Regions from separate parts of the Homo sapiens genome. Here region 2 is linked to region 1. Evidence: promoter capture Hi-C in human tissues and cell types (Jung and others, 2019). All regions are on one chromosome and are shown on one strand. The core of a region is centred on a gene start or on the middle of the fragment in contact, and the rest is flanking DNA. Distances in the headings are between cores, read along the strand shown.

Evidence for each region. The method cuts DNA at HindIII sites, captures the fragments that hold promoters and counts their contacts. A contact is called where the count stands out against the background at its distance.
Region 2: a fragment that was not itself captured here is called in contact with the fragment with the promoter of ZNF605 in region 1 in 2 of the 25 tissues and cell types used here (H1 embryonic stem cells and IMR-90 fibroblasts).

Annotation. Positions count from the first base shown.
Region 1 is chr12:132,952,738-132,959,343 of GRCh38, reverse strand. ZNF605 (zinc finger protein 605) reads left to right here and starts at 3,038. Exons shown (of 5, transcript NM_183238.4): 1 at 3,038-3,101. It overlaps LOC124903064 (a long non-coding RNA gene), which reads right to left and starts at 2,795. Exons shown (of 2, transcript XR_007063552.1): 1 at 2,614-2,795. RefSeq lists enhancers at 2,828-2,907, 2,661-3,489, 3,767-4,061, 3,490-4,320 and a silencer at 3,068-3,407. The HindIII fragment of the contact is 15,452 bases long and covers 1-6,606 here.
Region 2 is chr12:133,253,499-133,260,104 of GRCh38, reverse strand. No RefSeq gene overlaps it. Among named protein-coding and RNA genes, the nearest start is that of ANHX, 21 kb to the right of the region's middle. The HindIII fragment of the contact is 4,704 bases long and covers 448-5,151 here.

The DNA of each region.
Region 1 (6,606 bases), core at 1,789-4,288:
GAGGTCATGAGTTCGACACCAGCCTGGCCAACATGGTGAAGCCTCGTCTCTACAAAAATACAAAAAATTAGCCAGGCATGATGGTGGGTGCCTGTAATCCCAGCTACTCGGGGGGCAGAGGCGGGAGAATTGCTTCAACCCAGGAGGCAGAGGTAGCAGTGAACTGAGATCGCGCCACTGCACTCCAGCCTGGGTGACAGAGCAAGACTCCATCTCAAAAAAAAAAAAAAAAAAAAGGCGTATAAATTCTAGTAAGTCATTTAATAAATGACACGCTTAACCTCGGAGAAAAGTGAAAATCATAAATCTGTGAACAGCAAAATTTTCTGAGAACAAAAACAAAACTACCTTAAAGCAGAATTTTAATTTTAGCTCTGTTGAGCATGGAATTGGTTTGCTTAAATAAAGTTGAATCTCAGTTAGAAGCAGGGCAATGTGGGCTGGGTACGGTGGCTCAGGTCTGTAATCCCAGCACTTTGGGAGTCCGAGACGCATGGATCACCAGAGGTCAGGAGTTTGAGACCAGCCTTGCCAACATGGTGAAACCCATCTCTACTAAAAATACAAAAAGTAGCTGGGAGTGGCTGGGCGCAGTGGCTCACGCCTGTAATCCCAGCACTTCGGGAGGCCGAGGCAGGCGGATCACGAGGTTAAGAGATCAAGATCAGCCTGACCAACATGGTGAAACCACGTCTCTACTAAAAATACAAAAATTAGCCGGGCGTGGTGGCGCACGCCTGCAATCCCAGCTACTCGGGAGGCTGAGGCAGGAGAATCACTTGAACTCAGGAGGCGGAGGCTGCAGTGAGCCGATATTGTGCCACTGCACTCCAGCCTGGGCGACAAGAGCAAAACTCCATCTCTCACAGGCTCCAAATTTACTAATATAGAATTGAGCAAAATATTATTTCATATATACTTTAATTTGGTCTTTATGGCCATTTCAATTTTTTAAATTGCCAATTGTGAGTGTGTTTCCTGTTTCTCCCCATTTTTATTTTAAAAAACTAATATGCTTTTACAGTTTTTCTTTTTCTTTTTTTTTTTTTTTAGACAGAATCTCACTCTGTCTCCCAGGGTGGAGTGCAGTGGTGAGATCTCAGCTCACTGCAACCTCTGCCTCCTGGGTTCAAGCAATTCTCATGCCTCCACCTCCTGAGTAGGTGGGATTACAGGTATGAGCCATTACAGGCATGAGCCACCACACCTGGCTAATTTTTATATTTTTAGTACAGATGGGGTTTCACCATGTTGGTCAGGCTGGTCTCGAACTCCTGACCTCAGGTGATCCGCCCGCCTTAGCCTCCCAAAGTGCTGGGATTACAGGTGTGAGCCACCGCGCCTGGCCTGGCCAAAAAATATTTTTAAGAGAAGGTGTCTCCCTCTGTGGCCCAGGCTGGAGTGCAGTGTTGCCATCATAGCTCACTGCAGCCTCAACCTCCCAGGCTCAGGCAATCCTCCTGCCTCAGCCTCCAGTAGTTGGGACTACAGGGACAAGCCACTGCTTTATATATCCATAAATATATTTTATTTCCCTGTAATGTCCTCATCTCATTTATTTTTCCTTTTTTTTTTCTTGAGATGAGGTCTCACTCTGTTGCCAGGCTAGAGTGCAGCGGCATGATGGCTCACCGCAACCCCCGCCTCCCGAGTTCAAGTGATTCTCCTGCCTCAGCCTCCCGAGTAGATGGGATTACAGGCGCCCACCACCACGCCCAGCTAATGTTCTGTATTTTTAGTAGAGACGGGGTTTCACCGTGTTGGCCAGGATGGTCTCAATCTCCTGACCTGGTGATCCGCCCACCTCAGCCTCCCAAAGTGCTGGGATTACAGCCGTGAGCCACCGCGCCCAACCCTATCATCTATTTTCATTCCTTTTGTCAATACTGCTGGATTGGATGTACTAAATGTAAGGTCCTCTGAGCTGGCCGCACCATGGTCAAGCCATCGTGACATTCCCCCACCCTTGTGATAATGTACTTTGTAATATTCCCGGTCCTTGTGAATGTACTTTGTAACATTCCTCTCCGCCCTTGTGACAATACACCCTCCCCGCCCTTGTGAATGTACTTTGTAACATCCTCCCCTGCCCGCAAAAAATTGCTGCTGAGGCCGGGCGCGGTGGCTCACGCCCGTAATCCCAGCACTTTGGGAGGCCGAGGAGGGCGGATCACGAGGTCAGGAGATCAAGACCATCCTGGCTAACACAGTGAAACCCCGTCTCTACTAAAAATACAAAAAAATTAGCCGGGCGTGGTGGCGGGTGCCTGTAGTCCCAGCTACTCAGGAGGATGAGGCAGGAGAATGGCGTGAACCCGGGAGGCGGAGCTTGCAGTGAGCCGAGATCGCGCCACTGCACTCCAGCCTCGGCGACAGAGTGAGACTCTGTCTCAAAAAAAAAAAAAAAAAAAAAAATTGCTGCTGACTCCACCGCCTATCCTATCCCAAAGCTATAAGAACCAATGACAAGCCCACCACCCTCCGCTGACTCCTTTCTCAGACTCAGCCCACTTGCACCCAAGTGAATAAACAGGCGTGTTGCTCACACTTAGCCTGCTCAGGTGGTCTCCTATACGGACGCACGTAACACTAACATTTACCGATATTACTTACAGCTACGATGAAAAATGGAAAAGCAGCCGGACGCAGTGACTCATGCCTGTAATTCCAGCATTTTGGGAGGCTGGGGCAGGAGGATCATTTGAACCCAGGAGTCGGAGACCAGCCTGAGGCTGCAATGAGCGTTCATGGCACCACTGCACTCCCCACTGGGTGACAGAGCGAGACCCTGCCTCCAAAAAAAAAAAAAAAAAAAACAAGGAAAAGATGCAGACGCTTCCTCCTGGAGGCGCCTTTAGGTTCTCTCACAGACATGTTGGGCCAGCAGTGCTGGCTCCATCCTAGATTTCTTCCAGTCCTCCCCAGTTAGCCGCCAAGGGGCTTTTCCAACCGGAAACCTCCAATCCGCGACCCCGGCGGGTGCACCGCCGAGCCCCCCGGGAAGTGTAGTTCCAGCGCGAGCGGGACGCTGGGAAATGTAGTTCTGCGCGTTCACGTCCCCGATCGGGCCGTGTCCGCCGCGGCCCTGCGAGGTCCGAGGGGTAAGGGAGCGTGCAGCGGGGGCGGGACCACGAGGCGGCGGGGCTGGGGGCGGCCTCTGTGTCTGCGCCGGGGATCGCGGTGACCCCGCTGCGGACCGGCTCGCGGTGACCCCAGCGCGAACGAGCTGGCTGCCGGCTGGGGCGAGAAAGGCCTGCGGACCGGCCTGGGCGCATGCGCGGAAGGCGGGCCTCAGGCGGGGGCTCTGGGGGCGCGCGGGGGTGGGAGGCAGAGGGTGGGGTGGGGGCTGTAGGGCGGGCGGCGGCGGGGCGCTGAATGTGGGTGTCGGGGGAGATTTGGGGTCAGCTGGGCGATTCACTGGGGGCCTATGGAGGTCGCTGTAGACTTGGGGTGCAGCACGGGCGGGGCAAGGGGACGCGAGGTTGCCCTTGGCCCCAGGGGAGAGGGGCCCCTGGGAGGCCGTGTGGAGGATTTGTCTGCAGCGATTAGGACTCTGCTGATGAATGATTTGGATGCCTTTGGGTGAGCATTGGAGGCCAGCGGGGTGAATGATGAGGCTTCTGCGGGGGCCTGCGTTGGAGGGCTTAGGGGCTTGCTTGTGTGGGTTCCATTCACTGGAAAGCCTGCCGGCTGTGACAGTGTTGGATTTCACCAGAGCCCTGTGCTCCTGGAAAACAGCGAAGGTTGAGGAATTTCCCACCCTTTTGGGTTCCAGCAAATGGCTCACTGCAAAGATCTCCCGTTCCCTATATGACTTTGGTCAGCCTCCAGGATGCCCCTTGTTCACACAGACCTGCCACGTTGCCGTCGCTTGCCTCATCGGTGACTGGCTGAACTCCACCGAGCGGTCGGAGCAAAATGCTCCTTAAGCAAACTTTAGCTAAGCTTCTTTCCTTTCCCCATTTTCTTGAGCTTTGGCCCATCCCCAGCCTGAGCCAACACGCAGCCTCGCCTGAGAACAGGCTGGCTCAGGGTCAAGCTTTCCCCGCTCTGCTGTCTGGTCGCCCGCACTTCCACCTCGCTTGGCCAGGCCTGGTCTTTGCTAACCTTGTTCACACCTCTCTGTGAAAGAAAAACCCTTTTTGCCTTGCAGAGATGCACGTGAGTCTCGTGGCTTCACGGTTCTTCCCAGAAGCCCGTTCTCCTTCCCCTTCCCAACCCTCTTCCGCGTCTTTTTTTCCCCACTTCCAATAACCCTTTGGAACCGTCTTTCTTTGCTCTGTCCAGTTGTATGTTTTATTTGACAGCTGAATAACAGTGGTTGCTCTTTCAACCCCTGTCTCCAATAGCGGAGGCGAGTATGGGGTGGCCTATGCTGGCGAGTGGCTGGGGTTTGTTTCTGTGCTTGTGTTTGGGGATCTTATGATGGAAGCATTAGGAATGGCGCTGTGTATTTGTGACAAGGGAGTCTGGATGTAAGTTAATGGTGGACCTGTTGCAAGTTGTGAGTGCGTGGACAACGGGGGTCATACTTGGCGTCATTGGAGGGGCCTGCGGGATCGGCATTTGTGCAGAGCCCCACAATCCCTTTCCAGGTGGTGTTTGGGAGGGCCTGTGGGAATGTCAGTGAATGCTCCAGCATGGAGTGGATTAGAGAATGGGGTGTCATGGGGGCGAATGCTTGGGGGCCCCGGGGATAAGGGATTAGGGATCCCTGGGCATTGAGTGACTGGGGTCTAATTTAGGGGGTCTGTGGCGCAAGCCTCAGAATGTCAGTTACAGGGGAGGGGCTCTGTGAGCGCCTGACTTGGGCACCTGATGAAGTGAGTGAATGGAGACCAGTGTGTTCGTCCCAGGACAGAAGCCCCTTCTCCTCCCCTCCCCACCCTTCTCCTCCCCTCCCTACCCTTCTCCTCCCCCATCCTTCTCATCCCCTCCCCACCTCACCTGCAGGAGTGACTGAAGCCCCTTCTCCCCCGCTCCCCACCCTTCTCCTCCCCTCCCCAGCTCATCTGCAGGAGTATCTGAGTTCTGTGGGGATCCTTTGGGACTCAGAGTTTGGGGTTTCAGTCTGTGGTGATTCTTAAGTGGGGCTTTGGGGGTGCTGGTGATTATGGTGTCTGGCATCTGTATTTAAAAGCCCTGTGGGAGTCACTGAGGTCCAGTCATCAGTTGGGCCTGTAGGGATAACTCTGCCTGGCCTGTGAGGTCTATGGTGTGACGTAGGAATGGTAAGTGTCTGGGGGCCTGTGGAGGATTAGGAATAAAGGGTCCAGTGTACATCGTTGAATGGGGGACAGTTTTATTGGCTCGTGCCCTGGCATTGGCTTTGTTATTTGAGGGTGTTGGAACCAGGTGAGAAGGAGCTTGTTTGTATTAGTGACCGGGTACCAGAGATGACTGAATGACTGATGGGGTGGGCAGTGAGGTCTGTGAGGAGGAATGATCGGAGGGCTTGGGATCAATGCCAAGTATGCGTGCAAGTGTCTGTGATGGGTGTGCGGGTGGGTGAGGGTGAGAAATTGGGGACCCTGTGGGTGTCAGTGAGAGGGAAGCCTGGGGAGCCTAAGAGTTTGTTTGCCATTTGCGGTGAATGTGGAGTTAGAAGTTAGTGGCCTTAGCTGGGCACCGTGGCTCACACCTGTAATCCCAGCACTTTGGGAGGCTGAGGCAGGCAGATCAGGAGGTCAAGAGATCCACACCATCCTGGCCAACATGGTGAAACCCCGTCTCTACTAAAAATACAAAAATTAGCTGGGCATGGTGGTGGGCGCCTGTAATCCCACCTACTCAGGAGGCTGAGGCAGGAGAATTGCTTGAACCCAGGAGGCAGAGGTTGCAGTGAACCGAGATTTTGCCACTGCACTCCAGCCTGATGACAGAGTGAGACTCCATCTTAAAAAAGATAATAATAAGTTAGTGGCCTTTGGGTATCTGTGATTAGTGGTCTATACTGTGCCAGTCTGTGGAGTCTGTGGTCAGGTGTTTCTGGAGGCTGTTGTGGGGCCACTAGAGTTACCGCCTGGGGTCTTTGTTGGATGGTCACTGGGGAACCCATAGTGTGTGTCTCTGAAGGCCCTGGAGGGGCGGCCTCTTGGGGAGAGAGACTGGGTGGCCTGTGAAGTCAGCCATTGTGGTCCTGTGGGAGTGATGGGGGCACATGGGGTGAGTGAGAGTGGGGTTGATGGGGTTCGGTGGTTGTGTGGTCTGGAGGTCTGTGAAGCAGGCCTATTGGATTCAGTGATCTGGGGATGTCTTGGGATGTGGACCTGGAGAATTCTCAGGTGGTCACTGTGAGTGACTGGGGGACTTGGGATGCTGGAGGTTGGCAGGGGCTTGGAGCTGCGGAGTTCAGTGGTTTGTGTCTGGGGTGTGTGTGTGATGGAGGCCCTCTCTGGGACTTGGTAATCCGGGGAACTTGGCAGGGCCGTGTTGGTGGGTCTGGAAGCAGATCCGAATGTGAATGGGTCGTGGGTTGGCTCAGGCAAGCCTCTCGTGAGTGACAGGTCTTTTTGCCCTTTGGCCCTCTCCTTGTAGCTTGTGACCGCTGATCAGTGATCACTCTTTTTACGTGATTATTTCCTTTTTTAAAAGTTCTCAGTGACC
Region 2 (6,606 bases), core at 1,550-4,049, 300 kb before region 1:
ATCATGGGGATGGATTTTCCCTCATTTTTCCTGTGATAGTGAGTGAGTTCTCATTAGACCTGATGGTTTAAAAGTGTATGTCACTTCCCCCTTTGCTCTCTCTCTCTCCTGTTGCCATGTGAAGATGTGTTTGCTTCCCCTTCACCTTGTGCCATGATTGTAAGTTTCCTGAGGCCTCCCCCACCATGCCTTCTGAACAGCCTGCGGAACTGTGAGTCAATTAAACCTCTTGTATTTATTATTTTTTCTTTGAGACAGTGTCTTGCTCTTTCACCCAGGCTGGAGTGCATTGGCACGATCTTGGCTCACTGCAACCTCCACCTCCCATCTTCAAGCGATTCTCCTGCCTCAGCCTGCCAAGTAGCTGGGACTATAGGCATGTGCCACCACAGCCAACTAATTTTTGTATTTTTAGTAGAGATGGGGTTTCACCATGTTGACCAGGATGGTCTGGATCTCTTGACCTCATGATCTGCCTGCCTTGGCTTCTCAAAGTGCTGGGATTACAGGCATGATCCACTGCACCTGGCCAAACCTCTTTTCTTTATAAACTACCCAGTGTCAGGTAGTTTTTTTGTAGCAATGTGAGAACGGACTAATACAATGACCAAAACTTGAGGATGGCAAGGGCATCTGAACTGTGACATTATGAACCCAAGGTTCAAGATCCTGAAGTTTTGCTGCAATGGGGATGGCAAGGGCATCTGAACTGTGACATTATGAACCCAAGGTTCAAGGTCCTGAAGTTTTGCTGCAATGGGGATGGCAAGGGCATCTGAACTGTGACATTATGAACCCAAGGTTCAAGGTCCTGAAGTTTTGCTGCAATGGGGATGGCAAGGGCAGTCTTTATCTGATGTTGTTCTTAGAAGACCCAGTCTCTAAGTTCTAGATTGTGAAGGGTTTGATTGTCCTCGGTCAGTAGACCATAAAAAAGATTTCTTTACCTGGTGAAAATACATCTTGACATAATGCATTAAAGCCTTGCAGCATTTAGTTATATCAGAGTTCAGTAGTGGAAGATAAATGAGGTTGTATTATTAGGGGAATAGGTCTTCCAGTGACTATTTTGTAAGGTATCACCTTATGGTTTACACTGGAAGTAGATCTGATTGCCATTAATATAAAATACCTTTGACCAAAGCAATCCAGTCATTTCAGTTAGCTTTACCAAATGTTGTCGTATTTATAATACCTTATTTAACTGCTTTAAAATTTGTCCAGTGAAACAAGTACTTCCATCACTGGAGATTTCTTCAGGAATGTCCCATGAGGAAAACACATTTTCTAATAACCTTTTTGCTACTGTTATAAAATTAGCCCTCTAGCATGGAAAAGTTTTTTCGGCCTAAAAATATATATATTTTTAATTTGGATCATTTTATTTCTTAGATAATGAGTCATGGAATGCAGAGATTTTAATAACAAAAGCTTTAAGGACTCAGGAAGATGAGGCAGCTGCTCTCCAGGAGCCCACACTTAACATTGGACTTATATCCTCTTAAATACTGATTGTTTCTCCAATTTAGGTGCATAGCACTGATAACCAATAGATTATCATGGGTAATTTGACTTTGACCATGGAGTTCATTTAAATTGCATATCTTAACAATTTAAGTACTAGCTGATTTAGCATGAACATCTGGCAAAATATTTTCTTGGTATTCAATTAGTTTTTTTCCTGCCTGGCTTAGTAGTTTTATAAACCAGCCAGTCTCTTCATTAGAGTTCCAGGAATTTTTACCCAATCCAAACGATGTGGTCCTAAAGTTATTAGAAACTTGTGTTTGAGAGCTTGTGTCAGGGTTCTTTCCATCCTTTCATGAATCTCCTTAAAGACACCATATTCTAGGATTTTATGTGCTTGTGAAGTTTTAAGAAACTGCATCAGAATTAAGCAATTAACTGTGGAAATGAATTTAAATGGTCATAAAGACAATTGAAAAGGAAATTTGGTTATTTCTGTGGTTTACAATAACTCAACATAATAACCAGAATTATGACTGATAGCATATACCCAGACATATTAGGATTTTAGAAATCCCACATAACTTTGGAACATATATTAATAACATATTCTTTAAGATATAACTTAAGAAGGTTAAGCCATCCTTTCTTGTTTGATAATGCTTCCCATGTAATTTCACATGTCAAATAATCCGTTTATCTCCCTTTTGGATGCTTCAGGGGACCTTTGTAGCATCCCAAAGTTAAAAGGTGAAAAAAGACTTAACTTTGAAGTTGAAATTTGATTTTTAGAAAGCCAATCAAATATGTCAAAGGTTTAAAACACTTTACCAAAATAAGATCACAGGTCACCATAAAATAATAGTCATTCTTTTAGCCAAAGTGATAATTAAAGGATTTTTTAAACAAAAACCTGTACTCTTTGAGAGAGGAGACTCAGTTTTCCAATCAAAAGATCTCAGACAGCATGAGACAAATTCTGTCTCTTCTCTTTTCTCTTATCTCTGTCTTTCTCTTTGCAGTTTACTCAAAAGGTGAACAAAAATATTTTACTTTGTCTTATTAACACTACATGAAATTTTTGTTCAGAAGAGAAAAACTAATTTTATTTTTGTATTAGTGCACTATACATATAAAGCTAATATTTAATAAAATCTTATAAATAAATCAAGTCTGTCATCTTTTGAACACATAAGATTTCTATAAACTCTATAAACCTTTTGTGTTTTATACTTTTCCCTAACTTTCTATATTTATCTAGTTTTATCTTTTTTTACTCCTTCAATTTGAAACCTTTAAGTAACTTCAAACTAGACAAGTTTTTTTAGCAAACACACATTTTTATGCCTTCATAACTTTCCCCATCAAAAGCATGTCGTGTTTTTGTTTTTGTTTTGTTTTGTGTTTTTGAGACAGGGTCTCACTCTGTCATCCAGGCTGGAGTGCAGTATTGTGTTTACAGCTCCCTGCAGCCTCAACCTCCCCAGGCTCAAGCAATCCTTCCACCTCAGTTCACCAAGTAACTGGGACTATAGACCCATGGCGCCCTGCCCAGCAAAAAATTATATTTTATAATTTTTTAAACAAAATATAATAATTTTTTAAACAAAAAATTATAATTTTTTAAACAAAAAATTATAATTTTTTAAACAAAAAATTATAATTTTTTAAACAAATTTTATAATTTTATAATTTTTTAATTTTTTAAACAAAAAATTATATTTTATAAGCACAGAGCTAAGCCTTTAGGCCTAAATAATGTATTATTTGGTCAAACAAAGGAAAAAAGGTGTAAGTAAAAGTTCACTTAAGACAAGATGGCCAGAAAAGAACTTTAAACAAAGGTATGATTTGTTGTGTGAATTTAAAAAAATGGTAAGAGTTTCTAATATACATACACAGACACCATAAAAATGGAGATTTCCTTTATAACTGTGAAATTATTTCACAAAAGGATTTAAAGGTAGCCAGCTAAATTCCAGAAAGGTGTACTTTAGTTTGACAGGTGGTCTTTTTTAACTTTGCTACTGTTTCTTAGCTGAAATTACTGAGTTTATGATGGAGGCCCTTAAAGAATAGGGCAAAGAAAGCACTTTCTATGCCTGGACTCAGCATGGAGAGATCTGAAAGAGAAGCAAGAACCTACTTTACCTGAGAGCTTACCTTTTAAAAACACTCTATCTAGGATAACTTTCTTTTCACCTTCGAGGTAGGATGATGACCAAGCCAAAAGGTTAGCAAATTTAATGTTTCTTATCAATTAGTCACTTGAGCTTTTTATTTGCTTTTTATAAAGAGTCTTTAAATAAAAATACTGAAATCTTTTTAGAAGCTTCTGCATATCAATAGGTATCCCTAGATGAGACTAATTCAGGAGCCCTCATTTTCAAGTGCACTTCTTCAAATGCAGTGTTGTTCATTTGAAATGTTCCACTGTAACTTTCACACTGAGCAATTCACACTGCGGATTGGATCTGTGTCCCCACCCAAATCTCATGCCAAATTGTGGTCCTCAGTGTTGGAAGAGGGACCTGGTGGGAAGTGACTGGATCATAGAGGCAGACTTCCACCTTGCTGTTCTTGTGATCATGAGTGTGCTCTCATGAGAACTGCTTATTTAAAAGTGTGTAGCACTTCCCCCTTTGCTCTCTCTTCCTCCTGCTCCAGCCACATAGAATGTCTCCTTCCTCTTTGCCTTCCACCATGATTGTAAGTTTCCTGAGACCTCCTCAGCCATACTTCCTGCACAGCCTGTGAACCATGAACCAATTAAACCTTTTTTCTTTATAAATTACCCAGTCTCAGATAGTTCTTTATAGCAATGGAAGAATGGACTAATACAGTGAGCTAATACCTAAATGACCCTCATTACTTTTGTTGAAAGAAAAGGCTTGGAAACTATCTGATCAGCATGGGATTTGTCACTCAGTCATCTCAGTCACTTCCCTGGATCAATATTTGTATTTTCAATTTGCCGTTAGTGTGCAGAGGCTGCACCTCCATCCCAAGTGCATCTGAAGGCAGTTCCCTCTAACCAATGAACACATGTGAAAGTTGAGAGTCTAGAAAATGACTCCCTTAAAACTATTCATGTCCCTGGAAGGTCTTCCCATATCCCCAACAACATGCATTCTCATTTGAAGACCACTGACTATTCCACAGCATAAATCAGCCAACATGATTTGTTGAGTGATCATGAAGTGCTGTAGCTTTCAGATATCACCAGCCCCACCCACTGAGATTCAAGGTGACTACTCAATTAAATGTCCTCTTTGATTCACTTTACCTTTCCCTGTGGAATAACTTGTTTAGGCCTGTTTACTAAATCCTGATGTAAGTCAACACCAAATTAGAGAAAATCACACTTTTCAAAAAACAAAAAACTTTAGATTGATTCTCAAATGCCAAGTTTGAAATTTTCCATAACACAAAATAATTTGGAAGTCTGATTAAAGTCAGTGGGAATGATGCAAAATCATTAAGTCCAATTTTTATTATTATTATTAGATCATTTCACTGCAGGACAGTTACTCCATAGCTAGTGTTTCTTAGGAAAGCATCTTTTAACCTCAAAATACATCTCACGAAGCAATGATATGCCTTTGAAAAGCAATGCTAAATAGACATTTTACAAATGGAATCATGCTGTCCACACATTAGGCAATTTATTATTAGAGCAATCCTAAGATTTTTTAAAAAATAAAGAGATGCCCTATGCTGAATGAAAAAGCTAATACTTTAATATGCTTTCTTGTCAAATGTTCATTTTCATATAAAGGGCTTTCTTGGCAGGGGTTGGTGGGGAGCTGGACACAGCTGTCTCATTTTACTGCTGCTTGCCTTACTGTGTTTTGCCTTTTCTTTCAATGTACAAAACTGTGCACTCTTTTCTCAGCTCTGGTAGAGGGCTCAGCAATTAGCCTATGAAAGGCTATTACAAATTTTCAAATCATAAAATGTATGCTACACTGACCATGATGAGTGATGTAAAATATACTTTAAGCTGTCTCAGGATTTTGAGTCTTATTCATTGGAACATAAATGAGCAGAGCAATGATAAAAGAGATTATTCGGTTGATAAAGTGTCAATTAAAAGTCTTTAATATACTTCTTCTAGGAGATCATTAGCTATTAATTCAACCATTTACTAATGCAATACAACCCTTTCCTGAGTTGTGGCTGTCTTGTGTAGGCTATGTTCTGATGTGAATGAAGTTGCTTGTACTTGGCCTTCATTACTCCATGCACAATATATGATATTAGAATTATCTCTTTGAGCTGAGGGATGTTTTATTACCCTGATTGTGCTCACCACTCTTGTCTTCCACAGTACATGAGAAATCTGAAACATTTTCTATGTTATTAAGTCAGTGTCATTTGTGGATGGTTGTGACTCTCCGTCCTCACTCCAGTTCTCATAGATGGAAACAGAATTTGTGTTTATGCATCAGCCAATAGCTCTCCTTCAGCATTTTGCATATTTAAATAAATGTGGTTCTGATCATTTCTTTTTTTGAGATCATTGCAGATGTGTCTGATGATGCCACACATAACAAAGAGAATACTTGACTGAGATAATCTTATTTCAGAAGGCTGGCTTGTTAATGGGTATCTGTAACTACAACCTGAAAATACAGTCAACAAAAAAGAAAACCTCTGCCTTGCACAATCATGTATGTCTGAATGCGTGAAATTTAAACTATCTTTTAAGTGACTGTTATTTAGTACCAGTTAGCTAGATGCCCCTCCCTGGGGTTGGAGCATCATTAGGTATCAGCCTAAGGGAAAGAGGTGGGAGGTGGATCCGCTGACAGGAGGTCATGAGAGAGCTAAATAATTTAAAAAAAAAAACGGAAGTGTCTTCTGATACCTAAGCTGAGAGATTGAGTGTGGGAGGCTGCAAAGCAACTGGTGGCTAAAGCCAACATGAGCAAAGCCAAGGAGTCTTTAGTTCAAGAAGAAGGACCAGGAACTTGAAGGTGATGATCCCTGGTCTCTCCATCAAGGGCATCCTGTAGTCAGCTTGGTCAAAGAAGCTTGGCTGTGTGCTGTGTTTCAGTGTCCCCTCCAGAGCTCGTGTTGAAATATAATTGCCATTGTATCAGAATTTACAGACAGTGGGACCTTTAAGAGATGATT